5 separate regions of the Homo sapiens genome follow, and all the other regions are linked to region 5. Evidence: promoter capture Hi-C in human tissues and cell types (Jung and others, 2019). All regions are on one chromosome and are shown on one strand. The core of a region is centred on a gene start or on the middle of the fragment in contact, and the rest is flanking DNA. Distances in the headings are between cores, read along the strand shown. Region 1 holds the start of LOC105376328 (a long non-coding RNA gene). Region 2 holds the start of TMEM203 (transmembrane protein 203). Region 3 holds the start of EDF1 (endothelial differentiation related factor 1). Region 4 holds the start of ANAPC2 (anaphase promoting complex subunit 2). Region 5 holds the start of ABCA2 (ATP binding cassette subfamily A member 2).

What was found. The method cuts DNA at HindIII sites, captures the fragments that hold promoters and counts their contacts. A contact is called where the count stands out against the background at its distance.
Region 1: a fragment that was not itself captured here is called in contact with the fragment with the promoter of ABCA2 in region 5 in 1 of the 25 tissues and cell types used here (H1 embryonic stem cells).
Region 2: the fragment with the promoter of TMEM203 here is called in contact with the fragment with the promoter of ABCA2 in region 5 in 5 of the 25 tissues and cell types used here (adrenal gland, dorsolateral prefrontal cortex, hippocampus and 2 more).
Region 3: the fragment with the promoter of EDF1 here is called in contact with the fragment with the promoter of ABCA2 in region 5 in 2 of the 25 tissues and cell types used here (small bowel and spleen).
Region 4: a contact is called between the fragment with the promoter of ANAPC2 here and the fragment with the promoter of ABCA2 in region 5, in 5 of the 25 tissues and cell types used here (dorsolateral prefrontal cortex, heart right ventricle, lymphoblastoid cells and 2 more).

What each region holds. Positions count from the first base shown.
Region 1 is chr9:137,158,927-137,163,209 of GRCh38, reverse strand. It overlaps GRIN1 (glutamate ionotropic receptor NMDA type subunit 1), which reads right to left. Exons shown (of 20, transcript NM_007327.4): 9 at 2,013-2,154; 10 at 1,794-1,921; 11 at 1,122-1,286; 12 at 920-1,038; 13 at 694-806; 14 at 471-619; 15 at 207-364; 16 at 1-41. LOC105376328 (a long non-coding RNA gene) reads left to right here and starts at 2,150. Exons shown (of 3, transcript XR_007061878.1): 1 at 2,150-3,026; 2 at 3,433-3,501; 3 at 4,221-4,283. RefSeq lists an enhancer at 1-423. The HindIII fragment of the contact is 6,049 bases long and covers 1-4,283 here.
Region 2 is chr9:137,201,996-137,207,359 of GRCh38, reverse strand. It overlaps TMEM203 (transmembrane protein 203), which reads left to right and starts at 1,712. Exons shown (of 1, transcript NM_053045.2): 1 at 1,712-3,278. The coding sequence starts at 1,946. The coding sequence ends at 2,356. It overlaps NDOR1 (NADPH dependent diflavin oxidoreductase 1), which reads right to left and starts at 1,660. Exons shown (of 14, transcript NM_014434.4): 1 at 1,448-1,660; 2 at 1,051-1,128. The coding sequence starts at 1,582. RefSeq lists a silencer at 1,697-1,956. The HindIII fragment of the contact is 14,043 bases long and covers 1-5,364 here.
Region 3 is chr9:136,865,058-136,870,561 of GRCh38, reverse strand. EDF1 (endothelial differentiation related factor 1) reads left to right here and starts at 4,254. Exons shown (of 5, transcript NM_003792.4): 1 at 4,254-4,381. The coding sequence starts at 4,304. RefSeq lists silencers at 3,953-4,262, 4,363-4,552. The HindIII fragment of the contact is 12,750 bases long and covers 1-5,504 here.
Region 4 is chr9:137,184,764-137,189,846 of GRCh38, reverse strand. ANAPC2 (anaphase promoting complex subunit 2) reads left to right here and starts at 1,287. Exons shown (of 13, transcript NM_013366.4): 1 at 1,287-1,431; 2 at 1,744-2,366; 3 at 3,491-3,623; 4 at 4,760-4,934. The coding sequence starts at 1,315. It overlaps SSNA1 (SS nuclear autoantigen 1), which reads right to left and starts at 1,171. Exons shown (of 3, transcript NM_003731.3): 1 at 1,069-1,171; 2 at 582-781; 3 at 1-40. The coding sequence starts at 1,120. RefSeq lists a silencer at 780-1,129 and an enhancer at 1,160-1,379. The HindIII fragment of the contact is 18,290 bases long and covers 1-5,083 here.
Region 5 is chr9:137,026,955-137,032,062 of GRCh38, reverse strand. ABCA2 (ATP binding cassette subfamily A member 2) reads left to right here and starts at 3,826. Exons shown (of 49, transcript NM_001606.5): 1 at 3,826-3,988. The coding sequence starts at 3,923. LINC02908 (long intergenic non-protein coding RNA 2908) reads right to left here and starts at 4,599. Exons shown (of 3, transcript NR_171031.1): 1 at 4,152-4,599; 2 at 1-65. It overlaps FUT7 (fucosyltransferase 7), which reads left to right. Exons shown (of 2, transcript NM_004479.4): 1 at 1-84; 2 at 338-1,889. The coding sequence starts at 72. The coding sequence ends at 1,353. RefSeq lists an enhancer at 2,941-3,685 and a silencer at 3,569-3,748. The HindIII fragment of the contact is 11,656 bases long and covers 1-4,006 here.

The sequences.
Region 1 (4,283 bases), core at 446-2,945, 130 kb before region 5:
ACTCCAGCACCGCCGAGTCCCAGATGAAGGCATGCAGCTTGCTGCCGGCAGAGGCGGAGTCACGGGGGCCTTGGTCCTGCCAGCCTGGAAGCCCCACGCCCGCGCCCTCCGGGGTGCCCGGCCCGGACGCTCTCCTGCCCGGTGGAGGCCACCCTCCCCCTCCCCGCACCTGTCCCGCCCCGCCAGGGTGGCCGCCCGCGCCTCACTTGTCTCTCACGGCCTGGATGGCCTCCGCCGCACTCTCGTAGTTGTGCTTCTCCATATGCCGGTACATGGTGCTCAGCTCCACCTGGCGCCGGAAGTAGATATCCACGGAGCTCTGCTTCACCGTGGCGTAGATAAACTTGTCCGAGGGGTTCCTCAGCTGCAGGGTCGGAGGGCAGGGATCGCGGCGGCGGCTCCCCAGGCCCCTAACCGAGGCCGACCCCAGCTCACCTCGCATTCCCTCCCCCAGCCCGGCCAGGCCTCACCCGAGGGTCGTTGATGCCCGTGATGCGCTCCTCCGGCCGGTCCAGCACCAGGAAGGCCGCCAGGTTGGCGGTGTAGGAGGCCACGATGATCATGGCAAAGCCGGCCCACACCATGCCCAGGATGCGCGCTGAGAAGCTTCTGGGGGCGCCTGTGGGCGGGCGGGGGGCTCTGTCAGACCCTAGAGGGCCGAGGCGGGACCAGGCGGGCCGGGCGGGGCCTTACCTTCCCCGATGCCGGAGTTGAGCAGGACGCCCCAGGAGAACCACATGGCCGAGGACAGGGTCAGTGCGTCCTCCTCCTCCTCCTCGCTGTTCACCTTGAACCGGCCGAAGGGGCTGCGGGGCGCAGAGGGCGGGCGGGAGAGAGGGCGGGAGAGGCGGCCCTGCCCCGCCCCTGGCCGGCTCCGCGCCCCGCAGATGGAGGTGTCTGAGCCCCGGGTCGCGCTCACCTGAAGCGGTCCAGCAGGTACAGCATCACGGCCACCACGTGCACCGACAGCCCCACCAGCAGCCACAGTGTGCTCTGGAACGGCTGCATGAACGAGTCCAGCGTGCTCCGGGGAATCTCCTGCGGAGGGACGCGAGGTCAGCGCGGCCCGGGCCCTCCAGGGACTCCCCCCGCCGCCACCCCGCCACCCGGCCCCTGCCCACCTTCTTGACCAGAATAGTCAGGCCCTGGTACTTGAAGGGCTTGGAAAACTCGATGTACTGCGCGCGCTCGTTGTTTATGGTTAGCGGCGCCACGATCATGTCTGCCTGCCCGCTGAGCAGCTCGCCCATCATCCCATTCCACTCCTTCTTGTTGCTGTTGTTCACCTGCGAGGCGACAGAGCCGGCGGGCATGCAGGCAGCGTCCTCCCAGCTCCCGCCACAGGTACCCCCGACTGAAGCCGCCCTAGAGCACTCCGGGGGTCTTCTCCCCAAGACCCTACCCAGCTCGCAGGCCCCACCCCACTCCAGCCCCGCCCTGGCTCGCAGACCCCTCCCACGCCGGGCGGGCCCCACCACAGCCAGCAGGCCCCGCCCACTCCACGTCCCGCCCACTCCAGACCCCCGCCTGCAGGCCCTGCCCACTCCGTGCCCCACCCACTCCGACCCCCACGTCAGGCCCCTCCCATGTCAGGCCCCACCCAGCCCTCAGGCCCCGCCCACCCCATGCTTTACCCACGCCAGGACCCAGCCCGCAGGCTCCGCTCACTCCATGCCCCACTCACCCCAGGACCCCCCACCATCTGCAAGCCCCGCCTACTCCATGCCCCACCCACTCCGACCGCGCCTGCAGGCCCCTCTCACGCTGGTCCCCACCCCCGCCGTCCAGCCTACCCGCTCCTGTGTGCCGAACTTGCCATCTGCCACCAGGTGCACCTCGTAGGTGAAGTTCATGGTCCGTGCCAGCTTGATGAGCAGGTCGATGCAAAAGCCGTAGCAACACTGAGGCACCGTGTGGCGGGCTGGGTAGGTGCGGGCGGTAACTGCTGGGCTCCAGACCGCCCCACGCCCCGCGCCCTGCCCCGCGCCCCGCGCCCTGCCCCGCGCACTCACGGCTGCCCGGCGACGTGTCGTTGGGCCCGGTGCAGATCACCTTCTTGACTGGGTCGCCGTTGACTGTGAACTCCTCCTTGCATGTCCCATCACTCAGCGTGGGCTTGACGTACACGAAGGGCTCCTGGTGGATCGTCACAATCTGGGGGGGAAGGGGAGACCCAGCCTGGACCACCGACCTAAGGCTGCCCAGGGCGGCAGTCTCTTCTCAGCTCCCAGCCTCCCCTGGCGCCCCTCTTAATCCCCGACGCACCCCTCACACCCCCCGCCCTGCGCCGCCGGCCACTGCCCCTCTCTGGAGCTTCTTCACGAGCCCAAGTGTTCAGGACACGTCCTCCCCAGCCACCGTCAGCATCGTCTGCCTGCAGCCCCGGGGGGGTGGGGGCTGGGGGCTCAGAAAAGACTCCTGGAGAGCTGGACCCTTCTCTTGGCCACTTTTTCTCCAGTCTTGGCTTAGACATGATTCCCCGCCAGGTGCTGTGGCTCACGCCTGTAATCCCAGCACTTTGGGAGGCCGAGGCGGCCGGATCACGAGGTCAGGAGATCGAGACCATCCTGGCTAACACGGTGAAACCCCGTCTCTACTGAAAATACAAAAAAATTAGCCGGGCGTGGTGGTGGGCACCTGTAGTCCCAGCTACTCAGGAGGCTGAGGCAGGAGAATGGCGTGAACCCGGGAGGCGGAGCTTGCAGTGAGCGGAGACCGCGCCACTGCACTCCAGCCTGGGCGACAGAGCGAGACTCTGTCTCAAAAAAAAAAAGACATGATTCCCTCCAGCAGAGGAGCCGCTGATGTCCCGTGTATGCCAGGCATCTTCCTGGGGTGAGAAACAGCCCAGCCTGCAGGCTGACCCCCACCCTGCTGTGCCACGAGGACAGGGGCATGTCCACAAAGCCGACCCTGCACCTGCACAGGACCTGGGACCCGTGGGGCCACCCACCCGTGCCTCCCTTCATCCCGGCGCACTGCCTGTCCCGGCCCCCAGTCCCGAAGCCCTCAGGCTTTGAATGTAGGTCTCTGGCTCCTTTCTCTTGCCCGTGTGTACGTGCTCCACCGCGCCGTGGCCTCTTCGACCCACACTCCTGCTTGGGCTCGCCCTCCTGTCTGTCCTTCAAGGGACCATGGCATGGGGGTGGGGAAGGGATCTGGGGCACAGGGGGCTGGAATAGAGCATAGCACACTGCCAGAACTGTGAGGGGAGATGGTGTCAGAGCTGAGCCCTCAAGGTGGGCAGGGATCAAGCAGGTGCCTGAGGGCAGGTGGAGCAGAGGAGTCTGCAGTCCAGAACTGCAAAGGCAGGGAGGCGTGGGGGTGGTGGGAGAGGCACCCTCCCGGCATGTCCTAGGCAGGGTGAGCCTGAGAGGGGGGCAGGCCCGCCCACCCTCAGCCTCCAGGCAGCATTTTGTCTTTTATCCCCAGGGGAATCAGGAGCCATTGAAGAAGTTGATTTGCTTTATAAAACTTTCATTACATTTTCCTGTTATACAGGTAATATATATGCTAGTATTTTTAAAAAATTAGTGAGGCCAGAAACAAATTTGTAAAAAGCCATCTCCATCTCACAGCCTAGATGGGGCCTTTTGGCCATTAGCGTTTGACCGCTGCTTTCAGACTTTTCAGTGTGAGGTGTCTGGGCTGCAATGAAACCCACACTGGCACTGGAAAACCCCACCCTGTCTGCAGAGCAGGGAAGGGAGCTTGGGTGAGAGGCCACAGGGGCCGGTGCAGAGCAGGGGAGGGAGCCTGGGTGAGAGGTCACAGGGGCTGACACCAAGCTTCAGGGGTGGGCTCAGAAAACAGACAGGGTCAAGAGACATTTGAGGGCTTGGAATGACCGAGAGAAGGTTGGTGGGCGTGTCGCCTGTGAGGTCCTTGCCTTTGGTGGTCTGTGATGCTACCAGGACTGGAGTGTGTGTGGAGTGGGGGTAGTGTGGCTCTGCCCGGGGAGGAATGGCCAGGAGAGCACCCTGGAGTAGGGAGCCAAGGGAAAGATGTTCTGGAGGAGGAAGCCGGCGAGGGCAGAGGCTCTCAGAGGCCCAGGGGAGTCAGGAAGGGCTGTCCCACACGGTGGAAGAGGACAGTTTGACCCGGTCCCATCAAGAGCAATGCAGGCTGGAGGAGGGATGAGGGGTGTGGAGGACCAGGACTGGGGACAGCGAGTGCTGAAGCTGAGGTCTGCCTGCTGTCCCCCATCTGCTCTTCCCCAGCAGGGTCCTGTCAGACAACTAACTGCCCCAGACTTAAGTAGGGCTGGGTCAAGAGGGGCACTG
Region 2 (5,364 bases), core at 463-2,962, 180 kb before region 5:
TCTTGGTTCCAGAGCCCACATCCCTGTCTCGATTCTGCTTGACCTATTGGGTCCGTTCCATGTCCCGGGGACTCTCTCTTCCTGACACCACTGCAATGTGTCCACTTCTATCTTCTGCCACCACTTCAGCTCAGATCGGTAGCATCTGCTGCCTGTCCTGTGCATCTCATGGCATTATTCCTGCTGTCCTGCAGACCAGTGCGGTTTTGCTAGCTTAGGAACATGACTGTGTCACCCCTACAGTTCCGACAACCCTTCATTTCAAGCCCATCTGCCTTGCTGTGGTTACTCAGGCTCTTTGGACTGGGCCTGGCTTCCTGCCTCTCTTCTCCTCCCCTCTTGCCCCAGTGTACTCCTCAGCTTGGCCACCCTGAGCTGCTTTCCACTTTTCACACAAACCAAATCATCTTTTTCCTCTGCGCTGACTGCTCCTTCTTCCTCGGTGCCTGACTAGCCCTCACGCATCCTTCCGTGACTCAGCTTACACTCTTTTCTTCCAGAAACCTCTGCCTGGGCCCCAAGGTTGGGTGAGATAAGGCTCGATGCCCCTTATCAGTGCTCCTGTGACATATGCTACTTTCCCCAGCAGCAGGTGTTTGCTGGCACTGTCATTGCCCGTTAGCTGCTTCTGCTACAGTGTGAACTCTGCCAGGATGGAAATATGGCTGCTGGGTTCACAGCTGGATCCCCAGCACCAGACTGTGCCAAGAATAGAATATGTGCTTAAAAGATGGTCAGAGAATTCAGCAACGTTCCCTGAGGGTCATACAGTCTAGAAATACACACAAGACCCAGACTAGATGCACATATAGATAGCCCTGGAAAAATAAGAAAGGTTAAAACGGATAATAAGGCTATTTGGTGGCTACGACGAGTTTATTAGAGAGGGCAACCGGAGCCCCCAGCCCCACTCACGGACGTTCTCTCAAATCCACCTCTGAAGGTGCATGAGATAAAGGAGAGCTATTTACTGCACCTAGACGCCAGGCAATGAAAACGGGGTGAGGGTCGAGGGCAGGGATCTGAGGAGCCACATCAGGCCAGCCTTACCTTCATGTTGTCAGGGGGGTCTCCTTGGCCTGTAGTTGCACAAACAAATATCACCAGGGGCTCGTTAATCAGATTCACCTCAACAAAAAGACACACACACGTAAGACCTCCGGCTGTAAGGACCGGGCGTCCTTCCCAAAACTTGACCCCCTTCTCCTTTACTCAGGCTGACAGGGCAGAGGGATTTATGTGAGCAGCCAGACCGTCTTCTCTTTCAGGTTCCAACCTCCTCCAGGTGCTAAACTGAACTCCCCTTCCCAAACCTCCTTCCCTAAATCCGCCATAAGGGAAAGACCCGCTCTCAGAGAAAATGCGACGCCTTTTGGGTCGATGACCCCGCGAGGCGGGCACGCCAGGCCTGCTCGTCCCCCACGCCGAGGCCCTAGCGAGCCCTCACCACCGGGTAGGAGTCCAGGGCCTGCACCCGGCAGCCAAGCCGCCGGCGCCGGGCCTCGCGACCCAGTCTCTCCGACACATCCTGAGCCGTGCCTGTCTGGCTGCCGAAGAGCACCAGAAGCTGCGGGCTCGGCATCGGGGTGCGCCCGGTGGTCTGGTCTGAGACTAAAAACTAGAAGGCAGTTCCCGCCGGCCGGGTTGCAGGGACCGCTCCGCCTTCCGCCTTCCGCCGTCGACCGGAAGTGACGCACTAGGGACGCGCCCTGTGGGGGCATGGCGTCCGATCGAGGCGGGCGTTCACGGGCGGCCAGGGTTGAGTCCCGGGTCGGGGCCGGGGGATTGCCGGCGCATCAGGGCCGAGGGCTGGGGCTGGCGGGGCCGCTCGCTGCCTCTCGCTCGCAGCAGCGGCGGCAGGCGCGGGCGAGGGCCACGGGGAGAGGAGACGCAGCCCCGCGGGTGGCACGCTCGGCCGGGCCCCGGCCCGCGCTCAACGGGCGCGATGCTCTTCTCGCTCCGGGAGCTGGTGCAGTGGCTAGGCTTCGCCACCTTCGAGATCTTCGTGCACCTGCTGGCCCTGTTGGTGTTCTCTGTGCTGCTGGCACTGCGTGTGGATGGCCTGGTCCCGGGCCTCTCCTGGTGGAACGTGTTCGTGCCTTTCTTCGCCGCTGACGGGCTCAGCACCTACTTCACCACCATCGTGTCCGTGCGCCTCTTCCAGGATGGAGAGAAGCGGCTGGCGGTGCTCCGCCTTTTCTGGGTACTTACGGTCCTGAGTCTCAAGTTCGTCTTCGAGATGCTGTTGTGCCAGAAGCTGGCGGAGCAGACTCGGGAGCTCTGGTTCGGCCTCATTACGTCCCCGCTCTTCATTCTCCTGCAGCTGCTCATGATCCGCGCCTGTCGGGTCAACTAGCCTCACCGAGGTGCCGGAGAGGGAGCGCTGGACAACTAGAATGTTGACCTCGAGCCGAGGCCCTACTTGCAGCGCACCGGAGGAGAGGCTCTCTAGTCTGAAGGCACCGCCGGCTTGCGCCGAGCTGAGTGCCGGGTTTCCCTATTCCAATCCTGTTTGAAATGGTTTCTTCAGCAGGGCTTAAAAGAGCAGCCTTCATCCTGAAAATGTATTTCCTTTTGTTTAATGCTTTGAGTAGATAATCCTGAATTGAGGTCATGAGGAGGCCCCCCAGGCCAGACAGTCCTGAACCCCTCTGACACTTGGAAACTGAATATAAGTAAAATGTCCAGGTGGACTCTGAGTATTTCCTGTGGATCCTGGGAAAGTACTGTTGCACAAAGGCTGCAAAGCTGGACTCAGGAATGTCCTCCAACCAGCAGCGCTGACCTAAGAGCTCCCTGTGCCGTCTATCCAGACCAGACTTCGGTAGATGCCTTTGTTAGATCTATCACATGTAAACGAGCTTGTATCTCCTTCCCTGTGCCACGAGAGAGATTGGCTTTTTATTCCAGTCTAGGCAGAGACAGAAGAATGTTGAATAAGAGCACGATTAGAGTCCTGTCTGGTTATCTGTTGCCCAAGAAAAGAACTCTGCTGTCCAGGCACTGCTTGGCTTACTATCCCAGCAAAGACTGCAGTTTTGTGGACTTTTGACCACCTTGGGCTGGCACTCTTAGCACACCTGAGACAGATTTAAGCCTCCCTAAGAGACTGAAGAGAGGAACAGGTGTCAGATACTCATAGGCACTGAGATCTACAAATGGGAAGCTTGTGAGTGGCCCATCTTTGTTGGCCTACGAACTTTGGTTTGATGCCAGTCAGGTGCCACATGAGAACCTTTGCTGAGATGCAAATAAAGTAAGAGAATGTTTTCCTGAAATGAATAGTGGTTGCCTGTAACCCTCAAGGGTTAAATAGGATGAATATTGAGATACTCTCTGCTACGTGGTGTAGCTGGTTACAGAGCTGCGGTTTTAAATGGATTGAAACCTGTGGCTAGAGCTTAGTGGATGGTGGTGGTGGGAATCACTTGTTCTGGAGAATCCCTCCTTCCTGCTCTAGGAGGTGGGTAACTCAGGCACCCCCCCCCCCACCCTGTATGAAGACAACAATCTGGGCTCATGTTAAAGACCCATTGAATAGTTTGTGACCCCAGAGCCCATGACTTCTTGCCAGAGTGTGGTCTTTGTGGGCCTTGTTGGCACTCTGTAGAGCAGGGATCAGCAAACAATGTCCTAAGGCCTGTTTTTGTATGACCCTTGAGCTGAGGATGGTTTTTACACCCCTAAATGATTAAAAGCAAAAGCAGGCCAGGCGTGGTGGCTCACGCCTGTAATCCCAGCACTTTGGGAGGCCGAGGTGGGTGGATCACAAGATCAGGAGATCGAAACTATCCTGGCTAACACGGTGAAACCCTGTCTCTACTAAAAATACAAAAATTAGCCGGGCGTGGTGGCGGGTGCCTATAGTCCCAGCTACTTGGGAGGCTGAGGCAGGAGAATGGCGTGAACCCGGGAGGCGGAGCTTGCAGTGAGCCGAGACAACGCCACTGCACTCCAGCCTGGCCAACAGAGCGAGACTCTGTCTCAGAAAAAAACAAACAAACAAAAAAAAAAACAAAAGCAGAACTTGTGACAGAGAGTGGATATGACCCTCAGAGTCCAAGGTCTCTTAATTGGCACTCTTGGCCTTTGGGGCCAGAAGATTCTCTAGTGAGGATGCAGTCTGTTTCGCAGTGCTCCTGCCTCTCCTGGGTAGATGCCAGTAGCAGCCTTCACTTGTGACAAGCAGATGTTTATCCAGACATTGCTAAGGGCCCTGGGGAACAAAATTGTCCCTGGCAAAAACCAGTGGGCTAAAATATTTCCTGTCTGGGGCCAGATGCGGTGGCTCACGCTTGTAATCCCAGCACTTTGGGAGGCGGAGGCGGGCAGATCACGAGGTCAGGAGTTTGAGACCAGCCTGACCAACGTGGTGAAACCCCGTCTCTACTAAAAATACTAAAATTAGCTGGGCATGGTGGCGCATGCCTGTAATCCCAGCTACTCAGGAGGCTGAGGCAGGAGAATTGCTTGAACCTGGGAGGCAGAGATTGCAGTCAGCCGAGATAGCACCACTGCACTCCAGCGTGGGCGACAGAGCGAGACTCTGTCTCAAAAAAAAAAAAAAAAAAAAATTTCCTATCTGGCTCGTTACAGAACAGGTGTGCTGACCTCTGCTCTCATGCATCAGCCTGGCCAGCGGAGTGCGGTGTCAGCCTCTGCCTGGCGTGTATGCTTAGTTGTGTAAACCATGGAGGGGCTTGCGTTGGAGGCAGCTTATCTGGTTTGTTGCTACGACACTGTGTCCAGCCTGGGATTGGCATAACTTTTGTCAAAGCCAGATTCAAGCTGAACAGTGGGAGTGAGTTTCCTCGTAATGTTATTTATTTCTAGATTTTGTGTTTTGTGTGTTCCCCTGTTTTATTTTGGTAGTTCAGAATTGGGCAACCCTACTAGGGTAGAAGTGATGAACATCAGATGCTTCCTTTAGAAAGGTGATTTGAGGAGGGCCCTAAGGGAGGAGACACTTGGCTTCTGGAAAGCTGAAATGAAAGTTTATTCTGGCCAGGCCCAGTGGCTCACGCCTGTAATCCCAGCAGTTTGGGAGGCCAAGGCAGGCAGATCATGAGGCCAGGAGTTCGAGACCAGCCTGGCCAACATGGCGAAATCCCGTCTCTACTAAAAATACAAAAATTAGCCGGGCGTTGTGGTGGGCACCTGTAACCCCAGCTACTTGGGAGGCGAAGGCAGGAGAATCGCTTGAATCCTGGAGGCGGAGGTTGTAGTGAGCCGAGATCGTGCCACTGCACTCCAGCCTGGGTGACAAGAGCAAGACTCTATCTCAAAAAAAAAAGAAAAAGAAAAAGTTTATTTTCTCCAGCTTAATGGAGTGGCAGGAGAATAAGGCAAGCATTAAGCTAGCGG
Region 3 (5,504 bases), core at 3,005-5,504, 160 kb after region 5:
TGGTTCACCATAGGCTTGACCTTCCAGGTTCAAGTGATCCTCCTACTGCAGCTTCCTGAGTAGCTGGGACCACAGGCACACATCACCACACCCAGCTAATTGTTTGTATGTTTTTGTAGAGACAGGGTTTTACCATGTTGCCCAGGCTGGTCTCGAACTCCTGGCCTTAAGCGATTTCCCACCTCGGCCTCCCAAAGTGCTGCATTGTGGGAGGCTGAGGTGGGAGGATCGCTTAAGCCTGGGAGGTTGGGCCTGCTGTGAGCTGTGATCACGCCACTGCATTCCAGCCTGGATGCCACAGTGAGACCTTGTCTCTAAATAAATAAATAGTAGGAAAATGTTTCCGACATGGTGAATGTGTGGTACTATATAGTCCTAAGAAGCTCAGTGGGCCAGATGTGGTGGCTCACGCCTGTAGTCCCAACACTTTGGGAGGCCGAGGCGGGCGGATCACCTGAGGTCAAAAGTTTGAGACCAGCCTGGCCAACATGATGAAACCCGTCTCTACTAAAAACACAAAAAATTAGTCAGGCGTGGTGGCAGGTGCCTGTAATCCCAGCTATTCAGGAGGCTGAGGCAGGAAAATCACTTGAACCTGGGAGGCAGAGGTTGCAGTGAGCCTAGATCATGTCACTGCACTCCAGTCTGGATGACAAGAGCGAAACTCCATCTCAAAAAAAAAAAAGAAAAGAAAATTAGCTGGGCATGAACCCAGGAGGTGGAGGTTGTAGCAAGCCAAGATCGTGCCACTGCACTCCAGCCTGGGTGACACAGCAAGATTCCATCTCAAAAAAAAATAAAATAAAAAAGCAGCTCAGTGAACCCAAGCAAGGTAAATACAAAGGAAAATATGCTTAGGCACATGCTAAGAAAACTGAAGATCAGGCTGGGGGTGTTGGAACATGCCTGTAATTCCAGTATTTTGGGAGGCTGAGGTGGGAGGATCACTTGAGCCCAGGAGGTTGAGGCTGCAGTGAGCCATGATTGTGCCACTGCACTCCAGCCTGGGCAACAGAGTGAGGCCCTGTCTCAAAAAAAAAAAAAAAAGAAAAAAAAAAGAAAAAGAAAAGAAAAAGAAAACTGAAGACAGGGATAGTCTTGAAAGAGCCAGAGGACATGCCACATTGTCACATAACCTGCTGGGGAACCAGGACACAAATGACTGATCACTGATTCTCACTGGCAAGGATGGAAGTTGGAAGACAATGGGATGACGTTTATACAATAGTGTATCCTTCAAACACAAGGGCAAAATAGAGACATTTTCAGTTAAATGAAAGATGAAACTACAGCAGATGGTACTAAAAGGACCGAAGAAAGGCTGGAGGGAAATTATGCCAGAGAGACACTAAGATCTGCAGATGGAAATGAAGAGACTTTTTTTCTCCAGAAGTCTTTGGAATTGTCTTTTCTCCATGCATGAAGCTAAATGGATAACTGGTAGACAGACTGGTGCAACATCTCCAGTGAGATACGAGAGGCTCACCAGACCCCCCAAAGCTGCTTCTTTGTATCAGCTGCTTTCCTCTGGGCCCGAAGTCGGAAGAATCCAGGAATAGGAGGGAGTGCAAACAAACGACCCCGGAGTGGGACGGACGGAGTGGGATGGAGTGGGACGGAGTGGGCAGTGAGGACAGCCTCACACAGACACCTGTATCCATCATGCCTTGGTGCAGGGAGTGCCAAGGACAGGGCACAAGTGACTTGTGGCATCAGGCCTGGACTCCCGATGGAGGGCCAGATGGGACAACGGCTGTCTTGGTGGACACCTGCAGAGGACAGCTAGATGTAGCTGTCCCCTCTCTCTCAGCCCAGGCTCACTACGGAGCTAGCTGAGCCCCACTTGCATGGGTCTCCCAGGCTCTGAAAAGGGCCTCCCAATGCGTTCATGAGATCAGGTGTTGGTTAAGTTTGTCATGTTAGGAGGCCTGAACTGCAGTGTTAACAAGGCTGCCTCTTTCCAGGCCAACTCCACCTTCATCACAATCTTCCTGGGGGCTGGTGGCACTGGAGTGACGATAAGCATTTTTGGCACACAACAAAGGGGGACTTGAGTGGAGATACATCCAGTCAGAGTTTATGGGATATTTTCTTTTTCTTTCTTTCTTTTTTTTGTTTTTCTGAGACAGCAGAGTCTTGCTCTGTCCCTAGGCTGGAGTGCAATGGTGCGGTGTCGTCGACTCACTGCAACCTCCGCCTCCCGGTTCAAGCAATTCTCCTGCCTCAGCCTCCTGAGTAGCTGGGACTACAGGCACGCACCACCATGCCCAGCTGATTTTTGTATTTTTAATAGAGACAGGGTTTCACCGTGTTGGCCAGGATGATCTCGATCTCTCAACCTCGTGATCCATCCGCCTCGGCCTTCCAAAGTGCTGGGATTACAGAAGTGAGCCACTGCGCCCGGCCACAAGAGATTATTTTCATTCAGTGGAAGCACATCCTTGCTGGCCGGCTGAGGCTGTTGAGTCCTTAGCCGAACGGAGCTTGGTGCTGGAAGTCGGCGGGAAACAGAGAAGCAAGGTTTGTATGGACGGAGCCATCAGTGTGTCCCCAAGGTTCTTCCAATCATCCGGTGTGAAAAACGGTAAGCAGAAGACTCAACTTCCCACTGCCTGGTTAGAATTACAGTTGTCTCCTCCGCGGAGTGCATTTGCTAATGCAGCATTTCCAATTTAATACAGCATTTATGTATGTTTTCTTTTTGGATGGAGACTGCATTTATCAGGTTCCTTGTTTGTGGAGCATCTATTCAAAGCCCGGAAGTCAATACTATGATTAGGGCCTGCGGTGGCTCAAGCCTGTAATCCCAGGCTTTGGGAGGCCGAGGCGGGAGGATCACGCGAGCTCAGGAGTTCCAGACCGACGAGCCAGGGCGGCACGGAGACCCCATCTCTACCCCACAAAATACAAAAATTAGCCAGGCGTGGGGGCCGCGCCTATAGTCCCATCGCTTGAGCGCAGGACGTCGAGGCTGCAGTGAGCTGAGATCTCAATGTTGTGCTCCAGCGTGGGCCACAGAGTGAGACCCTGTCTATAAAAATAAAAATCCTAAAAAAGTTGTTCAATGATAATGTATAATGACCTTTCTCATTATACAAAACGGCTGGAAAATAGGGTATTACAGAATTATTGTCATATAACATATACACTTTATACATTACAGAAAATAAACATCATGCAAAACCATTCATTTTTGCAACCGATGTTTTCACAGTTTTCCATTCTTTTTCTTTTTTTTTGAAACGCAGTTTCATTCTTGTTGCCCAGGCTGGAGTGCAATAGCGCGATCTCGGCTCACCGCAACCTCCGCCTCCCGGGTTCAACTGATTCTTCTGCCTCAGCCTCCCCGAGTAGCTGAGATTACAGGTGCCCGCCACCACGTCCGGCTAATTTTGTATTTTTAGTAGAGACGGGGTTTCTCCATGTTGGTCAGGCTGGTCTCGAACTCCCGACCTCAGGTGATACGCCCGCCTCGGCCTCCCAAAGTTCTGGGACTACAGGCGTGAACCACCGTGCCCGGCTTGCGTTCTTTTTCTTAAAGAGTCCCACCTGCGGATCACGAGATCAGGAGATCGAGACCATCCTGGCCCGTCTCTACTAAAAATAAAATAAAATAAAATAAATAAATTAGCCGGGCGTGGTGGCTGGCGCCTGTAGTCCCAGGTACTCGGGAGGCTGAGGCAGGAGAATGGCATGAACCCGGGAGACGGAGTGAGCCGAGATCGCGCCACGGCACCCAGCCTGGGCGATAGAGCAAGACTCCATCTCAAAAAATAAAAGTTAAAAAAAAAAAAGTGTCCCACCCCACGCTGCGTTTCGGGCCCCACGGCCCTGGTCCTCGAGCGCAGGTCCCAGCCGCGCAGGCGGCAAAACAAAGGGGGGCGGCCGCACGGCTAGAGCGGAGACCCCGCGCCCCCTCCGCCCGCGTGGCCCGGCCGGGGTGCGGGGCCCGGGGAGGCACGGGGGCTGCGCGTCGGGGCGCAGCCGCCGCCCGCGTGTGCTCGGAGGCCGCGGGGCCCGGGCTCCGGGGTCCTCCCGACCTGCAGCCCCAGCGGCTACCGCGCCTCGCCAGGCCAGGCCAGGCCCCGACGTCGCCTTCCCTACGTCGCCGGCGCCCGGCCACGACGTCCCTCAGACGAGCCGAACGCCGAATGGCCCCGAGCACGGGAAGTGCCCGCCCCCCGCGTGCAGCCAGCCAATGGGACGCCGAAAGCGGGGAGGTGCCGAGGGGACGTAGCGTCGCCGCGCCAGGTCTCTAGCAGCTGCCGCTGAGCCGCCGGACGGACGCTCGTCTTCGCCCGCCATGGCCGAGAGCGACTGGGACACGGTGACGGTGCTGCGCAAGAAGGGCCCTACGGCCGCCCAGGCCAAATCCAAGCAGGTGCTTTGCTGACTGAGGAGCGGCCGGGCCGGGCGGGGCGGACGCTGGGCCGGGGCCACGGACCGTGGGGCAGGGGGCTCGGGGAAGGGCAGGCGGGGCCTGGGACAGGGCGCAGGGGACGGGGACAAGGCTGGGGTGCCGGGGGCAGGACGGGGTTCGAAGGGCGGGGCGAATCGCAGGGGTAGGAGGACCGGGCCAGGACAGGGGTGGGAAGGTGGGGGGCGGACCCAGGAGGGGATGGACGGACCCAGGAGGCAGGGGGCGGGCGACTGGAGGAGGAGAGGAGCAGGGAACCGGACGGGGCAAGGGGCAGGCGATAGGGCCGGGACCAGTGCCAGGGTGGGGCGGGGAGGGGATAGGGGCAGGGACTGTTGGTGGGGACAGGTGTGAGGACAGAGGCAGGAGGTGGGGACGGGGACGGGGACAAGGCTGGGGGCCTTGTGTGAGGATAGGGGACAGAGAACCAGGGTGGGCACTGGGAACGGGGGCAGGGATGGAGATGGGGACAGGGCTTGGAAGAACAGGGTAGAGTGGGGTACAGGGCTTAGGACAGGGGTGGGGACTGGGGCAAGCAGCAGGAACCAGCGATGAAGGTGGGGAATTGGGGTTGGGATAGGGCTGGGGGCCATTGGACAGCAGTTGAGGGCCTGGGGCGGGAGACTGGGTGACGGGGCAGAGGTTAGTGACCTGAGTGGGAGCTGGGGACAGGGGGTAGGCTCCTCCCTGAGAGTTTTCTCTCTGCCTGGGACCTGCTTGGTTCTACTGGTCTCCGCTGGTCAGATACTGCCCAGGGAGCCTGCCTGGGTGCATCACAGGCTGTAGAGAGTGCCTGCTTCAGGGGACCCCATGAGCAGGTGGACCCTGTTGCACAGGTGGAAGATGGGCGTGCCCTGAACAGTACTTGTGGAAGGAGATTACCAATGTGGCTGATGGATCCGAGGGTCAGTTGTGAGTCTGATGTAATAGGGAGGACAGTTTAGTCACCGCCTCTGCCTCATTCGTACCCTCAGGTGGCCTAGGGCTGAAGCCTTTGAGGCCAGTTGGGCCAGGATGCGCTGGGGCTCTGGTGACAGGGATTCATTGGTCTGCCCTACCCTTACTGGTTGCACAGTCAAAACCAAAT
Region 4 (5,083 bases), core at 38-2,537, 160 kb before region 5:
TCTTGAGAACGCTGAGCAAAGTCTGGGAGCTCTCCAGGATCTGGGGCCAGAGAAGTGAGAAGGTTGTTAATGTTCACCTGTTGGTAAGGTCCTAAGCCCCAGCTGTCCTCACACTCAGGTGCTGGGACCTGGCTGGGGGTGCTGTAGCCAAGGGATCCTGTGTGGGGGAAGGCGGAAGCCCAAGGGGACTGGCAGACGGGGTGGCAGGGCCCTCTTCCCTCCGGAATCTGACCCAAAACACTTCCTCTCCACCCTCAAAGCCAGGCTGGGTTAGCACTGGCCCGTGCTGGGTGCTCTGCCCAAGACCTGGCTCTTCACACTGAGCAGAAATAACCACATGGCTAGCGAGAACCGGATAAAGACCAGGACCCAGGATGCCCCAGGCCCCACAGACAGCCCCACAGTCACTCCCACAGCAGCCTGGGTTCCTCAATGGGCCTGGCCACGCTGCCCCTGCCCGAAATGCCAGCGAGGCACAGACTGCCCACAGCCGGGAGCCCCAGCCGGTCCTGACGCCTTGCCGTGGCAACACCCCTGCCGTGCCTATCCCCTGATGCTCGGCCTGGCCTCCCGAGCTCCACCTTGAGGTAGGCGGCCTCCGTCTCCGCGATGGTCCGGTCGAACTCGTTGCGAGAGGCAATCTTGCGTGCCAGGTTCTCGTTGACGCGGGCCAGCTTCTCTGTCAGCTGCCTCACCTCATTCTGCAGCCGCTGCTTCTCGTCCTCCTCCTCCTGGATCTGCCGGCACAGCTCCTCCCGCTTCTGGCACAGCTCCTCTATGCCTGGGGGCCGGGAGGGGCGGCGCTGTGGGCCCAGGGCAGGAGCGCGGCGGCGGAGGGCGGGCCTCCTTCCACCCGAGGAAGCCAGAGTCAGGCACCACCCCCGAGCGCCCGGCGCGGGGCCTGCGAGCCAGCGAGGGCTCGGGCCACGGACACCCGGCCTCCGGCACGGAGGGCTCTGCTCAGCCGCGCGATGCCCGCAGCGAGGCGGGTCCAGGGGCACCCCGCTGCGAGCCGGGAACCCGGCCCTGCGGCCCTCCCGACCTCCCCGTCCCGGCTGCGCCGCTCACACTTGACCAGCTCGTTGTTGTAGTTCTGCAGCGCCGCGCCCTGCTGGGTCATGGTCAACGCCGCCCGGGGCCCCACCACCCCAACCGCCGCGGAAGCAGCGCTGTCCGCGCCTGCGCACGACTCCCCCACGGCGCGCCGAACTAGCGCGTCATCGCTGAGCGCCTTGTGCGCGTCATGGCTGCGCGTGCAGACGTGCGTCATCGCCGCGCGCCGCGCCGAGCGAATCTCGGAGTCGGTGGGTGCAGATGGCGGCGGCAGTTGTGGTGGCGGAGGGGGACAGCGACTCCCGGCCCGGACAGGAGTTGTTAGTGGCCTGGAACACCGTGAGCACCGGCCTGGTGCCGCCGGCTGCGCTGGGGCTGGTGAGGCCTGGGAAGAGAGGGGCGGCCCCGCGCGGAGTTTCCGGGACCGTACGCGCTTTGGGGCCGCTACCCTCGGGTTCATACGGCTCTGTCCATCATCCGCCTCTGTCCTGTCCTGCCATTTTCCACCACCTTTCCGTTTCGTTTCGTTCAGCTCCGCTGACAGCCCTTCCATAGCTTCGGCCCAACGTCCGGGCAGCACGGACAGGGGGCAGCGGAGTTTTTGCAGCCTCCCCCTCAGCTTCTTCCCTTCCCCGCCTCTCCCCACCTCTATGTTGTGTTCCCCTCGCCTCACGGTTTTCTGCACCCCAGGTGTCTTCCCGGACCAGCGGTGCAGTCCCGCCAAAGGAAGAGGAGCTCCGGGCGGCGGTGGAGGTTCTGAGGGGCCACGGGCTACACTCGGTCCTGGAGGAGTGGTTCGTGGAGGTGCTGCAGAACGATCTGCAGGCCAACATCTCCCCTGAGTTCTGGAATGCCATCTCCCAATGCGAGAACTCTGCGGATGAGCCCCAGTGCCTTTTGCTACTCCTTGACGCTTTTGGCCTGCTGGAGAGCCGCCTGGATCCCTACCTGCGTAGCCTAGAGCTGCTGGAGAAATGGACTCGCCTGGGCTTGCTGATGGGCACTGGTGCTCAGGGGCTGCGAGAAGAAGTCCACACTATGTTGCGCGGAGTCTTGTTCTTTAGCACCCCCAGAACCTTCCAAGAGATGATCCAGCGTCTGTATGGGTGCTTCTTGAGAGTCTATATGCAGAGTAAGAGGAAGGGGGAAGGGGGCACAGACCCGGAACTGGAAGGGGAGCTGGACAGCCGGTATGCCCGTCGCCGGTACTACCGGCTCCTGCAGAGCCCGCTGTGTGCAGGGTGCAGCAGTGACAAGCAACAGTGCTGGTGTCGCCAGGCTCTGGAGCAGTTCCATCAGCTCAGCCAGGTCTTGTGAGTAGTCTGTCCCGATGGCCATGCCCTTGCTCCTTCTGGTTCCCCGCTGCTCCCCTGGGTCCAGCTGGCCTCAGCAGAAAGCTGGTGAGCCGTCCTGATAACCAGGAACATGACAGAGAGAGAGTCCCAGGGATTCCTGTGCAGCGTGTCCTGGACACAGGTGTCTCTCTTCTGTCACTCACCTTCAGTCCCACAGATTCATGCCTTGACCCTGGTAAGGCCCTATGTGGCTTGTGTCTGCAGCAGCAAATTTCTTAGCAACTCCAAACTTCCTGGACTCTGCAGAATTCCACTGTGCCTTTTGTCGATCCTGGGGAGGAATGATTCTCACCCTCGTCGACATTCCTTGCCCTGTAATTGTGAACAGAAGCTTGCTGCTGCTTCTCTCCAGGAAGATCAGGTCACTGTGAGGGCAAGCAGTCTCTTGTTAGTTTGGAGAGGAGAGGGGTTTGTTGTGAGAGACAGGTCCTGTTGTAGTTCTCTAGCAATTGTCATACCCTTGGCCATTTGTGGTGGTTTTGTCACATTGAACGGGGGTGTAGCCATGCAGCTACTTGAGAGGTCTTAGGTGGACTAAAGGTGGACTAAAGGAGTGCTCCTTTTGCTGGCAGGGGTCAGGGAGACCGTGAAGGGCTTCTGTTGGGCTCATCCCTGCAAAAGTTACACGGCAACTTTTCTCATCCTCCTCTTGAGTCCTTTTGTCACTGTAGACCAGAGACTGCACTGAAAGGCACAAACAGTGGCATCTGTACCTCTGCGGCCAGGGTAGCAGTGCAGTTGGTTGTCGTTTCAGAGTTGATCCTAGGAGATAAGGCTAGGGCCCCCGACAGCCACACCTGCTGCCACTGATCACATGGGGAAGGCCAGTGTCCCTACCTGGATAGAGGCCAGCTGGGCGGGGACAGCAGAGCCTGGGAGTGCTCTGTGCTCCCAGTGGCTTCTTGAAGCCTTTGGTACAACCGCCCCCCACAGCTGAGGATTGTGGGGAGGTGTGTGCTGGGTGTGTGTGTGTGTGTGTGCTGCATGCACTCTACAGGCAGGGCAGTCCTGGCATGGGGCTGTTCTGGGCTAGAGGGGCCGGTGTGTGCTCTGGGTGCCCCATGGCCAGGGCTCTCCTCTAGACACAGGCTCAGTCTGCTGGAGCGGGTCAGTGCCGAGGCTGTGACCACCACCCTGCACCAGGTGACCCGGGAGAGGATGGAGGACCGTTGCCGGGGCGAGTACGAGCGCTCCTTCCTGCGTGAGTTCCACAAGGTGAGGACCCCTCCCTTGGGCTGTGCCCCGCTGGAGACAGGGGAGTAGGTTTCTGGCAAACCTGACACCTGGCTTCAGAAGCATCCAGAGCACGGAGGCCTGGGTGGGCCCAGACCGGGTGGTGGCTGGAGCTGTCTTGATGTGGGGTAGAGACCAGTACTTCTGGGCCCTGGTGATAGCGAGGACGCATCTGAGGTGCGCTCTTCGGATCTGCGCAGAATCCCATGGCTGCAGGCGGTATCGGGCCAGGATCCCGAGGGGGCTACCTCAGGCAGGTGTGGCGAAGCTGGGCCCACCAGAGGAGCCACTGAATGGATCCCCTTCTCCTGTTTGCTGCCCTACTTGAGTGTGGACTCGCTTGGCCGGTCCCTAATGGACTGACCTACAGCCAGCCTGCACCACAGCGGGGAGCGAGACACCCTCACATGGGGCCTCCAGGCACCTGTGCTGTTGGGGTGTGGTCTGGGGCTCTGCTCTGGGCTCCCGGAGCCATAGGGGAGCTGGGCCCAGCCATGTGGGTCCCCCCATCCTGTTCCCATGTGTCACCTGTCCTTTCCTCAGTGTTTCAGAGTCCCCCTACTGAGGTGCAGATTGGCTGTGATGTTGGGTTTTCAAAGAGGGAGGGTGTCCCCAAAGCGGTGGGCAAGAGTGGGTAGTAGGGTGGAGAGGGTGAACATCCGTGCGGTCTTGCCACTGGGTAGCAGGTCTGTGGGGCATGAGCACGCCTGGGCCCCGCGGCGGAATTGCCACCTAGAGGTTTGTGCTCGCCTGGGCCCCCCGGCTGGTCTCAAGGGCGTGTTTATCCATTTAAGTGGGGGCAAGTGTGCCCACCAGGCACAGCGCACAGGTCGTGTGTGTCTGTCATGTCTCACGCTAGGGTTGCTGCTGCCAGTGATAAGTGTGGGCACTGGCGCGTGTGAGAGGCACGAAGACTGCAGGGGGGCCGGGACGTCGCCTTTTGGGCCATCACCCACCCTGCAGGTTTTGATGTGCTCCAGCCTCCAGACGCAGGTGGCCTTCGGGCTCCCCTCGGTCCCGGCCGACAGGGTGGGTGGCCGTGAGGCTCCTCCCAGCCTCTGAGTCAGCCCGGGGCTCACCATGCCTCCCTGCAGCTCACACTAGCGTTCTCCTGACAGTGGATCGAGCGGGTGGTCGGCTGGCTCGGCAAGGTGTTCCTGCAGGACGGCCCCGCCAGGCCCGCATCTCCCGAGGCCGGCAACACCCTGCGCCGCTGGCGCTGCCACGTGCAAAGGTTCTTCTACCGCATCTACGCCAGCCTGCGCATCGAGGAGCTCTTCAGCATCGTCCGAGGTGGTCCTGCCCCGGCCCTGGGGTCCGCTCTCCCGTCTGGGGAGTCTTCCCAGGGCCTTCCCCGTGTCTCCTCTGTGTCTGCATCTGGGCTCCCTGTGCCTTCACCGTGTCTGCTCTGTGTCTGCGTCTGGGGCTCCCAGGGCCTTTGC
Region 5 (5,108 bases), core at 2,577-5,076:
GGGCACCTCTGGCGGCTGCCGTGATTTGAGAATCTCGGGTCTCTTGGCTGACTGATCCTGGGAGACTGTGGATGAATAATGCTGGTGAGTGTCTGGCCCTCGGGGAGGCCCAAGCTGGGGACAGCTAGGCAACCTGGGAGGGGAGGACGGGGGTGGCGCTGAGTGGGGCATGTCGGTGTCCCTGAGCCCATGGGAGGGGAGGACGGGGGTGGCGCTGAGTGGGGCATGTGGGTGTCCCTGAGCCCATGGGAGGGGAGGACGGGGTTGGCGCTGAGTGGGGCGTGTGGATGTCCCTGAGCCCAAGTGACAGAGCCTCCCCTCCCTCGTGCTGCTGCAGGGCACGGCCCCACCCGGAGGCTGCGAGGCTTGGGGGTCCTGGCCGGGGTGGCTCTGCTCGCTGCCCTCTGGCTCCTGTGGCTGCTGGGGTCAGCCCCTCGGGGTACCCCGGCACCCCAGCCCACGATCACCATCCTTGTCTGGCACTGGCCCTTCACTGACCAGCCCCCAGAGCTGCCCAGCGACACCTGCACCCGCTACGGCATCGCCCGCTGCCACCTGAGTGCCAACCGAAGCCTGCTGGCCAGCGCCGACGCCGTGGTCTTCCACCACCGCGAGCTGCAGACCCGGCGGTCCCACCTGCCCCTGGCCCAGCGGCCGCGAGGGCAGCCCTGGGTGTGGGCCTCCATGGAGTCTCCTAGCCACACCCACGGCCTCAGCCACCTCCGAGGCATCTTCAACTGGGTGCTGAGCTACCGGCGCGACTCGGACATCTTTGTGCCCTATGGCCGCCTGGAGCCCCACTGGGGGCCCTCGCCACCGCTGCCAGCCAAGAGCAGGGTGGCCGCCTGGGTGGTCAGCAACTTCCAGGAGCGGCAGCTGCGTGCCAGGCTGTACCGGCAGCTGGCGCCTCATCTGCGGGTGGATGTCTTTGGCCGTGCCAATGGACGGCCACTGTGCGCCAGCTGCCTGGTGCCCACCGTGGCCCAGTACCGCTTCTACCTGTCCTTTGAGAACTCTCAGCACCGCGACTACATTACGGAGAAATTCTGGCGCAACGCACTGGTGGCTGGCACTGTGCCAGTGGTGCTGGGGCCCCCACGGGCCACCTATGAGGCCTTCGTGCCGGCTGACGCCTTCGTGCATGTGGATGACTTTGGCTCAGCCCGAGAGCTGGCGGCTTTCCTCACTGGCATGAATGAGAGCCGATACCAACGCTTCTTTGCCTGGCGTGACAGGCTCCGCGTGCGACTGTTCACCGACTGGCGGGAACGTTTCTGTGCCATCTGTGACCGCTACCCACACCTACCCCGCAGCCAAGTCTATGAGGACCTTGAGGGTTGGTTTCAGGCCTGAGATCCGCTGGCCGGGGGAGGTGGGTGTGGGTGGAAGGGCTGGGTGTCGAAATCAAACCACCAGGCATCCGGCCCTTACCGGCAAGCAGCGGGCTAACGGGAGGCTGGGCACAGAGGTCAGGAAGCAGGGGTGGGGGGTGCAGGTGGGCACTGGAGCATGCAGAGGAGGTGAGAGTGGGAGGGAGGTAACGGGTGCCTGCTGCGGCAGACGGGAGGGGAAAGGCTGCCGAGGACCCTCCCCACCCTGAACAAATCTTGGGTGGGTGAAGGCCTGGCTGGAAGAGGGTGAAAGGCAGGGCCCTTGGGGCTGGGGGGCACCCCAGCCTGAAGTTTGTGGGGGCCAAACCTGGGACCCCGAGCTTCCTCGGTAGCAGAGGCCCTGTGGTCCCCGAGACACAGGCACGGGTCCCTGCCACGTCCATAGTTCTGAGGTCCCTGTGTGTAGGCTGGGGCGGGGCCCAGGAGACCACGGGGAGCAAACCAGCTTGTTCTGGGCTCAGGGAGGGAGGGCGGTGGACAATAAACATCTGAGCAGTGCCTCGTGGGTCTGGCCAGTGTCTCATGGGTCACCTCCGTGCAGGGCCACAGAGCCTGCATCTGCCCTCCCCTGACATGTCGCCCCCACGGCCATGGGGCTGCTTGTTCCCCACGGGGGGTCCTGTCGCCTGACTTCTGGGCCTTTGCTCACCCTCCGCCTGAGAGCCCTCCCTGTGCCGGGCTGCCCACTGGCTACCCCAGTTCCTACAGCCTCCGCCAGACGGCCCCTTATCAGAGAGCCTTCTGTGTCCCCCAAAAGGCCAAGGCGATGAGCCCAGGAGTTCGAGACCAGCCTGGGCAGTGTAGTGAAATCTCATCTCTACCAAAAATACAAGAATTAGCAGGGCGTGGTGGCTCACGCTTGTGGTCTCAGCTACTTGGGATACTGAGGTGAGAGGATGGCTTGAGCCCAGGAGGTTGAAGCTTCAGTGAGCCGTGATCACACCACAGCACTCCAGCCTGGGCAACAGAATGAGACCCTGTCTCAAAACAAAAACCAAAACAGGCCAAGGTTGGGGAAGAGTAGGGAACGGACGTCAGAGGCCTGGCCAGGCTGAAATCGCCCATCTCCCAGGCCCGCAGGCTGGAGGGTGTCTGGGGTGACAGGGTCTGACCTGTGCCTTGTAGCTCCCTCTGGTGGCCAGTGCTGGGGAGGCACTGGGGATGCGGCTGCAGCCAGGGAGCCCCTGTAGTGGACGGTGGAGAGTGGGGCGAGGAGGAGAGAGGCCAACCCACGGGTGGTGCTGACCAGGGCCCCAACAGGCTAAGCCCCCGGGGCTGGGGCACAGGGCTTGTCCCTACCCCAGGTAGGGGTGGGCAGGTTGAGGGCAGGAAGCCCCCCTCACCCATGGCTGTGGCTTGTGGGAAAGACCTGCTGGTAGCTTCCTGCCCTGACCCAGCCCTGTGGACTGAGCAGAGAAAAGCAAGTGCCTTGAGGCTGCGGGCTGGGGTGGGAAGCTGATCCCTCACTCACTAGCCCAGGGTCACCTTCCTGCTGCAAAGGAGCTGGGAGGAGTGGGGAGCTGTGGCCTCGGAGGTCTTCATTCACTTGAGGATGCGCCTTCTATGTGCGCCCTGACACTGGACACCACACAGCGCTACTCCACCCCATTCACAGGGGGGAAACTGAGTCTGGGAAGCGCCGTCAGAGCCACCCATGGGGTCAGCCTGTCCTCTGTCGCTCTCTACAGGCCACGCGGAGGAACTGCCCCACCTCCCGGGGCGCCCCAGCAGGTGCCAAGCCACAGCCGCAGAACCGCCTGATCCCGAACTCCCTGTGCAGAGACCAGACTCGCCCGAATATGGGGAGAAAAACGAGCCGCGTGCAGCAGGGGCCGCCTCGGTCCCCTGCCTGCTCCGCTCACGGCGAGCGTTCCTGGGGCCTCGAGTTTCCCCCCTTCCGCTGGCTGCTCGGAATCGCGGGACGGACCCACCTGGCCGCCCTGCCTCCCTTCCAGGTGGGCACCACCTGGACTCCAAGTGCTGGTTTACAAAGCACACAGGAGACCCTTACGGGGGTGAGCTGGCCCCTCGCCAGCGTCCGCTCGGCGCGCCCCGGGGACAGTGAAGGCTTGGGGCGCCTCTGCAGAGTCGCCAGCGCGGTGGGCGCAGCCGGATGCCTCTGGGAGAAGAGCGCAGCGCCCGAGGGTCCCCCGGCCTACGAAGGCTAAGCCGGGGTCTCGGATTCGATGTGGGCGCGTCGCGTGACGCCCGGCGAGGGGCGGCCCGGAGGCTTCCCGGCGGCGGCGCGCGCAGGGTCTCGGGCCCGGGTCGGTCCCGGGCGCGGCGCGGGCGGCGGGCGCCTCCTGGCGGGCGCGGACGGAGCGCGGCGCCTTTAAGCGGGGGCGGGCGGGGCGCGGGCAGAGTCGCTGTCGCCGCGGCCGCCGGGGCGGAGCCAGCGCGGATCGGGTCCCGGACGCCCGAGCGCCCCGCCCCCGCGCGGGCGATGCCCAGCGGCGCGGCGGGCTGCGGGGCCCGGCGGGGCGCGCAGAGGAGCGGGCCGCGGCGCTGAGGCGGCGGAGCGTGGCCCCGCCATGGGCTTCCTGCACCAGCTGCAGCTGCTGCTCTGGAAGAACGTGACGCTCAAACGCCGGAGCCCGGTGAGCCCACCCCACGCGCCCGCCCTCAGCCCGAGGCCGCGCGCACCGCGGCCAGAGGCGCGCTCCCCGCGCGCACGTGCGGACGGCCGGGCGCGCGCAGACCCCGGCGGGCGCTGGGGGCGGCGCGGGCCCGAGCCCCCTCCCCGCCGGGCCCTGCCCTCGCCTGCCGGCGCTGCGGCCTCCGGGGAGGTGGCTCGGTCGTGTCCAGTCCGGTCCCGCGTCCGCTGACATCGCGGTGCTCGGCTGAGTCACGGCACCCGCGCCCTCTGCAGCGCGCTCGCTGGGGCCGCTGTGGGCGGGGGGCAAGCGGCGCTCAGGACTCTGGCTCGAGGGAGGCCCTGGTTCCCAGGACAGAAGGCAGGCCTGGGGGGCTCCATTCAGCTGCGAGGCTCCATGGTCCTTGGGCCCAGCCTCCCTGGGGTCCCGGAGGAGACCCTGTCCCTTCCCTCCGTCCACCCCTCCCCTGCCCTTGGGCCGCGGCCTGCCATAGAGGTTGGTCCCAGGCATCTCTCCGCCTCCCCTCCTGGCACATCCGTGACCCTTGCTCATGCTCTCGCCACTGGGAATGTCCTTGTGCCAGCCTTGGCCAGCCTGAATCTCTGCACCCATTTGTCCTTTGGGGTCAGTTCTCCCCGAGCCTGATCCACTCTGTTGCCTCCTGGTCCCCCCACCTGCTCTGGGGGCTGGGTCTACTGTTTGGAGCTGTGAACCCCGGCTTTCCCAGCACTGCCTGGGCAGCCAGTGGACCTGAGGGTGCAGGACACATGGCTGTCAGGGACAGAAGTCCTTCGTGGAGCGAGGGGCTTGGGGATATGGGTGTCCTGCCATACCCCCAGCTGGCCAGCTTGGCTCCAGCCTGGGAAGGGAAGGGACACCTCCCAGGCCACAGGCCTGGACCAGCTTAGGTTTCTGAAGGCCCTTGGGATTGTCCAGGCCAGGGCTCAGAGCAGGTGGGGGCCTAAGGCAGACATCCTCTTGCCCAGCCAGGGCCCGGGCGGGACCCCTTGGGCTGCACCAGTCCGTGCCTGTTTATCTTTCAACATGCACTGCAGGAAACCCAGGCTGCAGTCAGCTGGGGTGGCCATCATCACCATGGCTGGCAGAATTCCCCTGGGCACCT